2 separate regions of the Homo sapiens genome follow, and region 1 is linked to region 2. Evidence: promoter capture Hi-C in human tissues and cell types (Jung and others, 2019). All regions are on one chromosome and are shown on one strand. The core of a region is centred on a gene start or on the middle of the fragment in contact, and the rest is flanking DNA. Distances in the headings are between cores, read along the strand shown.

Evidence for each region. The method cuts DNA at HindIII sites, captures the fragments that hold promoters and counts their contacts. A contact is called where the count stands out against the background at its distance.
Region 1: a fragment that was not itself captured here is called in contact with the fragment with the promoter of LIG4 in region 2 in 1 of the 25 tissues and cell types used here (dorsolateral prefrontal cortex).

Annotation. Positions count from the first base shown.
Region 1 is chr13:107,265,664-107,270,400 of GRCh38, forward strand. All of the region lies in intron 1 of NALF1 (NALCN channel auxiliary factor 1), which reads right to left. Among named protein-coding and RNA genes, the nearest start is that of SNORD31B, 53 kb to the right of the region's middle. The HindIII fragment of the contact is 4,400 bases long and covers 963-4,737 here.
Region 2 is chr13:108,212,071-108,216,792 of GRCh38, forward strand. It overlaps LIG4 (DNA ligase 4), which reads right to left and starts at 3,466. Exons shown (of 3, transcript NM_206937.2): 1 at 3,414-3,466; 2 at 2,468-2,540. RefSeq lists an enhancer at 3,391-3,685 and a silencer at 3,529-3,668. The HindIII fragment of the contact is 8,794 bases long and covers 318-4,722 here.

The sequences.
Region 1 (4,737 bases), core at 1,913-4,412, 950 kb before region 2:
CCAAAGTGCTGGGATCACAGCCATGAGCCACCATGCCTGGCCTACTTTTTTTTTTGTTTTTTAATGGAAACATATTTAAAGACATTTTTACAATACTTTGGTCTATGAATATGAGGTAATTTTACCCATGTAATTAATATATTGAAATTTTTTGGTCATTTTTTTCCATAAGTAAATTATATAAACATAGACTAAATAAAAAGTATCTCATAAAGAAATCAGTACCGTAGCATCTGTGTGGCAAAGTCTAAAACTATAGAAAGGATATGATTTGCGTTTTCTCTAGGTGCTGGGAAATAGTTATTTCAGATGCTCTCTTGTTTCTTCTCTCAAGCTTCCTGAAAATAGTATAAAGTGTTATAGCCTCTATTCCTAAGATCAGTAAAGAAGACATAAAGGTTAAATGCTCTTGCAAAGCAATCTAACAAAAGGCAAGGTTCAGCAATCAGGGCGACGTAACATACAAACTGCATAAGCGAGCTGAAAAGGTGGTGAGAATCTCCTTCTTTCCATTCAGATAGCTTCCTTCTATCACACTGATGGGTGTACTCACCTGGCTAGTCCCAGGTTTACTTTGGCACAGGTAAGAAATACACGTGTTTTGTGGGTTTGTTTACATAAAGACCTATCCCTATTATGTTATCATTTAAAATTAATGAAATTACATTTTTATTCTACAAAAGGATATAAGGTTGTTCATCACAGGTTGAGTGCTCTGTGTACACCCCACCTGGAAAATAGATGGCTACCTGTACTGTTGACAAGGTTTCACACCGTCACGCAAACATTCATTTCCTTTTTGGCATCATTTCTTCTTATTTAGGTTATTTTCTCACTACTCTTAAGTTTCCCACCCTCTTGTTTTTGGCCTTCATTCTGTAGAAGAATTAGATCCCTATAACTACGTGTGTGTATGTAGATAAATAAACACACACATACATGGATACACAAACATAAATACTTATATATCTAAACTATGAATACAGAAGTACAGTGTTATGGGAAAAGCACACCACAGAGGTTGACCAAAGTCCCAGCACCTCACAATGCAATTTTTAGGGTCAAAAAAACCCACAGGAAATAAAAGTATGCACAAAATCACCTATGCAAATTATTAACACAACTCCTGTCTATTGCTCAATAATACTGCAAAGTTTTCTTCAGATTAGGTTCACCATGAGTATTTCCCAGAGATATGCATGACTGTAGCATGGGCTGGGCTGTCTGGCAATGCCTTCATTTCTGATATGGGATGTACAGTACAGCCTGGCTTGTAGTGTCTCTAGAACTCAACCCACCCAACTTCCTACACCAGGATGTTTACCGAGCCAGTGTTACTTCATGTTCTCATCTGTTTTGTTTTACACCTGGGTTAACTGAGGTCCACAAGTCAAGTGTTCCACTGTAGGGCCAGGTATACAATTCAAGTTTCCCCATAAGCACTTGGCTCTTGGCCAAGACTCCCCTCCACCATGCTTTGTGCATTTTGTTTTCCCTCAAAATAGAGCAAGCAGTCAATAAATGCTCACTGATCACGTATTTGGACCTAACAATATGACAGAACCTAGAAATACAGTAGTTAATGTAAAGCTTACAGCCTAGGTGAGAATGTAGATACCACATAAAATTGGACCAAAGAGGTACAGTCAAGCAAAGTGATGTAAGAAGTACAAATTGATAAAAGAGAGTCTAAAGGGGATTGGAAACATGAAAGGTTGCCAGGGAGGTGGAGGGAAGGAGATGGAGGTGGGCATGACCATAAAAAAAAACAACATAAAGAATCTTTATAGCGAGAGCGCTGTGTGTTGTCTGTGGTGGTCTATACAGTAGTCCCCTGTGTATGTTAAAACACATATACAGTAGAGACCCTGTCTATGCTAAAAAAAATGTATTCCACTCATTGGAGAAGGATGCATTCCAGGATCCCCAGTGGATGCCTGAAACCACAGATGGTACTGAATCCTATATGTACTGTTTTCTTCTTGTACACACATACCTACGAAGAAGTTTAAAAGATTAACAACAATAATGAATAATAAAGTAGAACAATTATAACAATATGCCAGCCTCACTCCACCCTTGTGCTTTGGGCCATTCTTAAGTAAAATAAGCACTACCTGAACACAAAGACAGCAACACCACACCAGTCGATCTGATAACCGCGATGGCTACTAAGCGACTAACAGGCTGGTAGCATAGACAGCCCGGACAAAGGGAGGATTCACGTCTCGGGCAGGACAGAGCCAGATGATGTGAGATTTCATCACACTACTCAGAATGATGAGCAATTTAAAACACATGAATTGTTTTTTTCTGGAATTTTTTTTTTTTTTTTTTTTTTTGAGATGGAGTCTTGCTCTGTCACCAGGCTGGAGAGTAGTGGCGCGATCTCGGCTCACTGCAACCTCCGCTTCCCAGGTTCAAGGGATTCTCCTGCCTCCGCCTCCCAAGTAACTGGGAACACAGGCATGCACCACCACCACACCCAGCTAATTTTTGTATTTTTAGTAGAGACTGGGTTTTACCATGTTGGCCAGGATGGTCTCAATCTCTTGACCTCATGTTCTGGCCGCCTCGGCCTCCCAAAGTGCCAGGATTACAGGTGTGAGCCACCGCACCCAGCCTATTTCTGGAATTTTCGATTCAATATTTTGGGACCATGGTTGATGGAGGGTAACTGAACTCATGGAAAGTGAAACCACAGATGAGGGGGGACTACTGTGCCCAAAGCTACCTATGTGATAAAATTGTATACAACACCCACACACACACACATACTCGAGGAGTACAAACAAATCAGTAGAAACACGAATATGATTCTTGGATTGTATCACTGTCAGTATCCTGGTTGTGATAATTGTACTATATTTCTGCAAGATAATACTGTTGGAGGAACCTGGGTAAAGGATGTGTAATATCTCTCTGTATATTGTTACAACTACATGTAAATCTACAACTATTTCAACAAAAAGCTCAATTAAAGTGGGACTAATAATTTATCCTGATGAATTAGATGATATTCTTTAAAAAGTCATATTTAAGCTAAGACCCAGAATTAGAAGTTAGGAGGGTTAAGAGAAGTCAGGGTCCAGGGGACGGTATTCCAGTCAAAAGAAGCAGTGTGTTTGGAGGCACGAATAAAAGTTTCATTTGCCAAATGTAGGGAGAACAACAGGGTAGTCAAGAGTAACTGAAGGGCCAGATTTTTTAGGGCATTAAAACCATAATAAGTATTTTGTTTGCTTTTCTCTGAGGGTAGTTTATTTTAAGGATGATAGTAATGTGATTAGATGAGTGTTTTTCTATTATCTCTCTGGGTGTAGAGTGAAAATTGGATTCGAAATCAGGAATAAACTGGGAGTGGTGGTGCACGCCTGTGGTCCCACGTCCTTGGGAGGCTGAGGTGGGAGGATGGTTTGAACCCAAGAGGTCCAGATTGCAGTAAGCTATGATCACACACTGCACTCCAGCCCGGGAGACACAGTGAGACCCTGTCTATGTTTAAAAAAAAAAAAAGAATTTAAAAAAATAGAAATTGAGAAATTGTGGGTGGGAGTACAGTACTTTAGTAGCTACAGCAATAGTCAGGGGGGTTCACGAGAACTAAGCAAAATGATGGTGATGTGGCTGGAGGAAAATGGGTAGATTTGGGAGGTCTTTAAGAAGCAAAAGACATGGAGTTGGTAATTGATTGGATAAATTTATATCTTGCAGAGTGGATAGTAAATGTTATTTACTATAACCAGAAACACCTGAAAAAAAGTCAGGGGTCCAGGGATCAGATAGTATGATTGATTGTGGAAAGGCTTTGGAGATGAATATGTTTATAGTATTTTAAAATAGGTCCTGTATCAAGGTTTGAACTTATTTGTATTTCTGTATGTGAATTTCTGTGTTGCAAATCACCCATGGTTTATAGAGTCATATTTAGAACAGAACAACTAAGAGTGTCCTTTTTTCCCCATTATATTGTACTCTACACAGGTAATGACAGCAAGTCACCCAAAGATGTAAAGTCATGATCATCGTTGGTCTATGTCAGGCAACAGTTCCAAGAGGACAGAGACCTCCAGAGAGGGAGGAGACGTGGAGAACACTTGTGATGTTACAAGCAATTCTGTTTTATTATATAAGGAAGAAATATGTTTCTTTTTTTTTTTTGCAAGCTCCGCCTCCCGGGTTCACGCCATTCTCCTGCCTCAGCCTTGGAGTAGCTGGGACTACAGGTGCCCACCACCACGCCCGGCTAATTTTTTTTTTTTTTTTTTTTTTTTTTTTTTGTATTTTTAGTAGAGACGGAGTTTCTCCGTGTTAGCCAGGATGGTCTCGATTTCCTGACCTCGTGATCCGCCCGCCTCGCCCTCCCAAAGTGCTGGGATTACAGGCGTGAGCCACCGCGCCTGGCCAGAAATATGTTTCTTATAACATCACTTTCAATTGTGAATGATGCAGGATTATTTGAAACTGACCACCTATATGAGGCCATCAAAATGTAAAAGTTTCTATTCCAGGAATAATCAAGCTTTTTTCAGAATATTGAAAATTTATTTTCTATGTCAAACTTTTGATCATTCCTTGAACTGAATTATTAATGGTTTCCAAGAACAAATCCTAAAGACCAATTTTACTGCAATCTCATTTATCAAGGCAATACATGCACTATACACTATGTTAATTTTTAAGTGGGGATCAAAATAGGAAAAACTATACATTTTAATACATTAAAATATTGCATAT
Region 2 (4,722 bases), core at 2,216-4,715:
CATGCCAGTTATTCCCTGAGTATTTAATGACTACATATGAGATGTGCTACATACACTGTGCTAGGGGAAAATACTGCATGTTTCTGCTTTAAAAGAAAATATATTCTGTAAAAAAAAAAAAAGAAAAAAAAGAAAAGAAAAAAAGGGGGGGAGTGTAGTGGAAACTGAGTATAATAAAATGCCAAGTGCTTTAACAAAATAAAACAAACGTAAAATGTCCTGAGGGGAGAGCTTTTCCCTAAAGTATCTGCTAAAGTCAGAGAAGAAATAATGGGTACCTTGCTAAGCTAGGGCAAGAATATTTCCTAAAATTTCACAAGTGTAAATTTCTTTAGTTTTAAATATTCATACAAGTTCTACTGGAAGATAAATATATTAGAGTAATTTTAATATGGTTTAAACTATGTAATGTTAAATAACTTTTCCAAAAAAAGATTTCAAGTAAAATGTATGGTCCATGAATAGAAACTATGTTTTATCCTGTGGTTTCAGACCCCTCCTGGCACACCACCATGTATCCCAGGCAGTGGAGTTGGAGAAGTTTTGCTGGGAGTGGGGAGATCTATTACAGTGCAGAAAATATGTGACTCCCCATCTTCCAATTCGCAAACAAATGAGCAACACACACATGCACAAGGCTACATTATCTAGTATCCAGTAAAATAAATCAAATGGCTAATTACAATACTACATTTACTATACTGTCAGTATCTAGAGGCCAGGAATTGTGCTGTAATTTGTGCTCTAGTGGCAGACATGTAGGAGGTTTGCTGAATGAATTACTGAACACCTAGAGTTGACTCCTGGATAAGCACACTAGGGAAAGCTATGGTCTGGTTACATACCACACACTCACACACGCACGCAGACACACAGTGGGTGAGATTCAGTTTGGTTAAAAATATTCAGTAGCTCTGACTGCCCTGGCAATGGTTTACAACAGCCATTTGGTGGCCTATAGAGAAAAAAGGTGCACTTCTCAGTCTAATTTCTGACAAAGGAAACCCAGCTTCTACTGAGTGGGTTAGATCGAGGGATAAACGCATGACAGACCACTTTCCTGAAACTTTTATCTTTGAATATACTGTTGTTTCCTCTCTCTGAATCTGGTTTGCATAACTGACTGTAACACCTGGTTATGTATGTTCACTGCCCTATCTCCCAAAATTTGCTCCCTCAAGGGAGTAAACAGGGTACACAATGCTATATCTACAATTTCTATATAAACTATGTAAAATAAAGTAGGTTAACTAATATTTCTTTAATATTCAAATATTGGTATATAGTTTCTACAGATATATCTATAGATTCTACATGGTCTCAAAGTTAAAGTTTCGCTCAACAAATCCCAGGCAAGGACTTAAATTACTTTATAATGACAAAATGTAGGTAATGGTGTGGATACACATGTATCCTAAAATGGCTACGCCTATAACAAGGATTCCAAAATTGCCATAAACTAGTCGTAAGTATTTTTGCTCATTACAACGGCATAAAAAGTCAAAGATTAGGACTTCCATTCATTTTTACATGCTAATTTTATTTTTTGGATTCTGAGGATTTTAGCTGATTCATTCCATTTGCAGTAAGACAAATGAGGAGGTTCCTGGTTAGGGCTCAGGTTTTAGACTCTAATAAATCTGAGTTCAAATGTGGATGGTAACATTTAACAGCTGTGTGATACTGGGCAATTACTTAATTTCTCTAAGCTTCAGTTTCCTAAAGTATAAAATGGGGTTAAAAACTATGTAGAAATTAGAATGAAGATAAAAATCAGATAATCTACAAAATGTGCTTTAAAAAGTAGTAAGTCTTGATAATTTTAATACTATAATGCTTGCTGATCCAAGCAACATTTAAAATATAAATATTGCAAAATATTAACGAGATAAAAAGGTGGGAAGAAGCTTCACTCTTTAACAATAAGCAAAGCTTTCAGGAGAATGAATGCAAGCAATTAGTACACAATAACGATTCATCATTCATTCAGTTCTGACTAAATTGTCCTGAAGTGACACATGAAAATAAACCGGCAGGTTTTATTCAGTGACTATGGAAGGTGATTAAGTGCTATGCTATTGCACTTAAAAAAGAGAGAGGAAAAAAAGGAGTAAGTGACGAATGCAACTGAAGTATCCTTCATGCAACCCTTGACAAGCTGTGTTTCCCTAGGAAACAAAGGGTTTACAGCTGCCTATCTTCCACAGCACTTAGTGACAATTTGGGACAATCTCAGCAAAAAGAAATGAGCAGACAAAGACGCTAGAAGGGCTTTGGGATCCCAAAAGTTAATGAAAGACCAAGTGTAAGAAGAGAAATAAAGTAATTCCCTCCAAGCCTAAAGTCTCTCCCGCTCCAATGCCCCCTGTACCCTCTCGGAAAATGGAAAATCCCTAAGGAGTCTACATCATTCCTCTGCCCGTTCCCCCTACTCTCCCCCAACCCTTCACGGATTCCCAGTGAATACCTGGCCTCGGGCAAGCTCCGTTACCTCTGTGAACCAGAGAATCCCAGCTGTAAAATGAGATCTTGATGGTTTCCTGCGGGGTTGCCATGAGAAAGAATCAACATGTACGCAGGTAAAGCAGGCAATACAGTTCCAGGGAGTCAAAAACGGGAGAAATCGTCCCACGACCTGGGGCTTGGGTCTAGATGAAGAGCACAGCATCAGGAGGCCAGGCTTCTAATGCGGCGCAGTCTACAGCGCTGTGGACTCGGCAACTCCCATCACCTGCCGCTGCACAAACACCCTGCTTGCTGCCCCCATAGACCGACCCCCGCCTGACGCCTCCCAGACCCCCCCACCTGACGCCCCTCAGGCCCCCCGCCTGACGTCCCAGACACCCCCACGACCGGATCCCCCAGACCCCCAATCTGACGCCCCACTTCCCCTACTTGACTCCCCACACATCCCCCGCCTGACGACCCCCCGACCCCCGCCTGACGTCCCAGACACCACCCATCTGATCCCCCAGACCCCCAATCTGACGCCCCACACCCCCCACTTGACTCTCCACACACCCCACACCTGCCACCCCACGTAAACCCCGCCTGACACCTCACAGACCCTAACCTGACGCCCCACAGACCTCCCCCGCCTCCTGCCGCCACACACACCCCAAACCCCGCCCCGAACACCCCCCACCTGCCGCCCCACAGATTCCCCCCTCTGACGCCCCACAGACCCCCAACGTGACGCCCTACAGACCCCAACCTGACGTCCCACAGATACCCCGCCTGACGCCCCACAGACCTTCCCCCGGTCTGTTGCCCCACAGACTTCTCGCCGCCTGCTGGACCACACCTTCCACTTGACTCCCCCCACACCGTCAATCTGCCACCCCCCACCCCCCCCACCCCAACCCCCCCCAACCTCCCAACCGCCCCCACCTGCCACCCCACACCCTTCCCACCTGACGTCAAGCCTGAAGCTCAGCCGCTAAGCCGGAAGCTGGCGCCAGAAGATGCCGGTTCCGCCAGCTGCTCGCCGCGCAGGCGCAGGGGAGACCCGGGGCCTTGCAGTCACCGGGCTCAAGCACGCCGGCGCAGCCAGGCTCGCGATGGGAGGTGGGGGGGCCGGCAGCCCCGTGGGGCTGCGGAGGCGGGACCTGCAGGATCCTGGTTAGGGTCTTGAGTACACACGGCTCCTATTGGCCTCGGCAGCAGATGCTCTCTGCAAGCAGTTGATCCACACGCCAGTGGATTTTGTCTCGAGGGAGACCTAAGATCACTTTGTGCTCTGGCTAGTGATAGCCTCTAATTCTTGTTCTCTGTACGTAAAACAGTGGTAACTATACTGATTTCGCTGGTTGTGAAAACTCCCAAGAGAGAACAGGACATCCTCCCAACTCAAAACGTTGGTTGTTTCATTTAAACTTTTAAAAAATAGGCTTTTGCAAACTATATAGAGCTGTTTTTTTTTTTAAATGATGTTTGCTACTGTGGTCTCAGTTCTCTTAATACAGAAATAATACATAACAATACATAACTTACAATATAGAAATAAACCGTTGCATGACCAGAAATCAACTATGGACTCTTCTAGTATCTGTTTAAGGTTTAAAAATAAAGTTATTTAACAAACCTTTATTGAGCACCTATTATTATATAGTAATGGTGCTAGATATTCAGGGTGGAGAGATTATAAACAACCCCAGTTTTTGTGTTCCAGGAGCTGTTGGTTTCCACCGAATTTTTGCTGTGGTCAGTCCTCTTTCGCCATGGAGAAGTGAGAAGTTATTCATAAAGAGGGGTGGAAACAACTTTTAGAACTATTTTATTTTAGCATAAAATATTGCTTTACAATAAAATAAATTTTGCTGCAGTGGGCCCTGATAAAACATATTAGAGCTGTTAAGTGCCCTTAGAGGTTGTGTAATGTATAAAAACCTCCTTTTTCAAAACTGACACATTTCATTCAGTGCTAGTTTGTAGCGGAGGTTCCGTCTAGCCCAAGAACATTCAGTTATTTACTTCGTATGTCTAATTGACCTAATATGCCTGAATATCTAAAATCATCTGTGATGTTGTAAAGTCTCATGATATTGTTTTGTGAGTATCTGCTCTTCAATTTAGTTATCAATTTATTTTGGAGGAAAAATGAATAGTGTTAAGGTAGAGGAGCCTCCACTTGCCCATCTTAGGAGAGGGTACCTATCCGTGTACATTTGTAGCTTGTTCAACCTCTACTGAGCTCCTACAATGTCAGAAGCTGGACTTTGT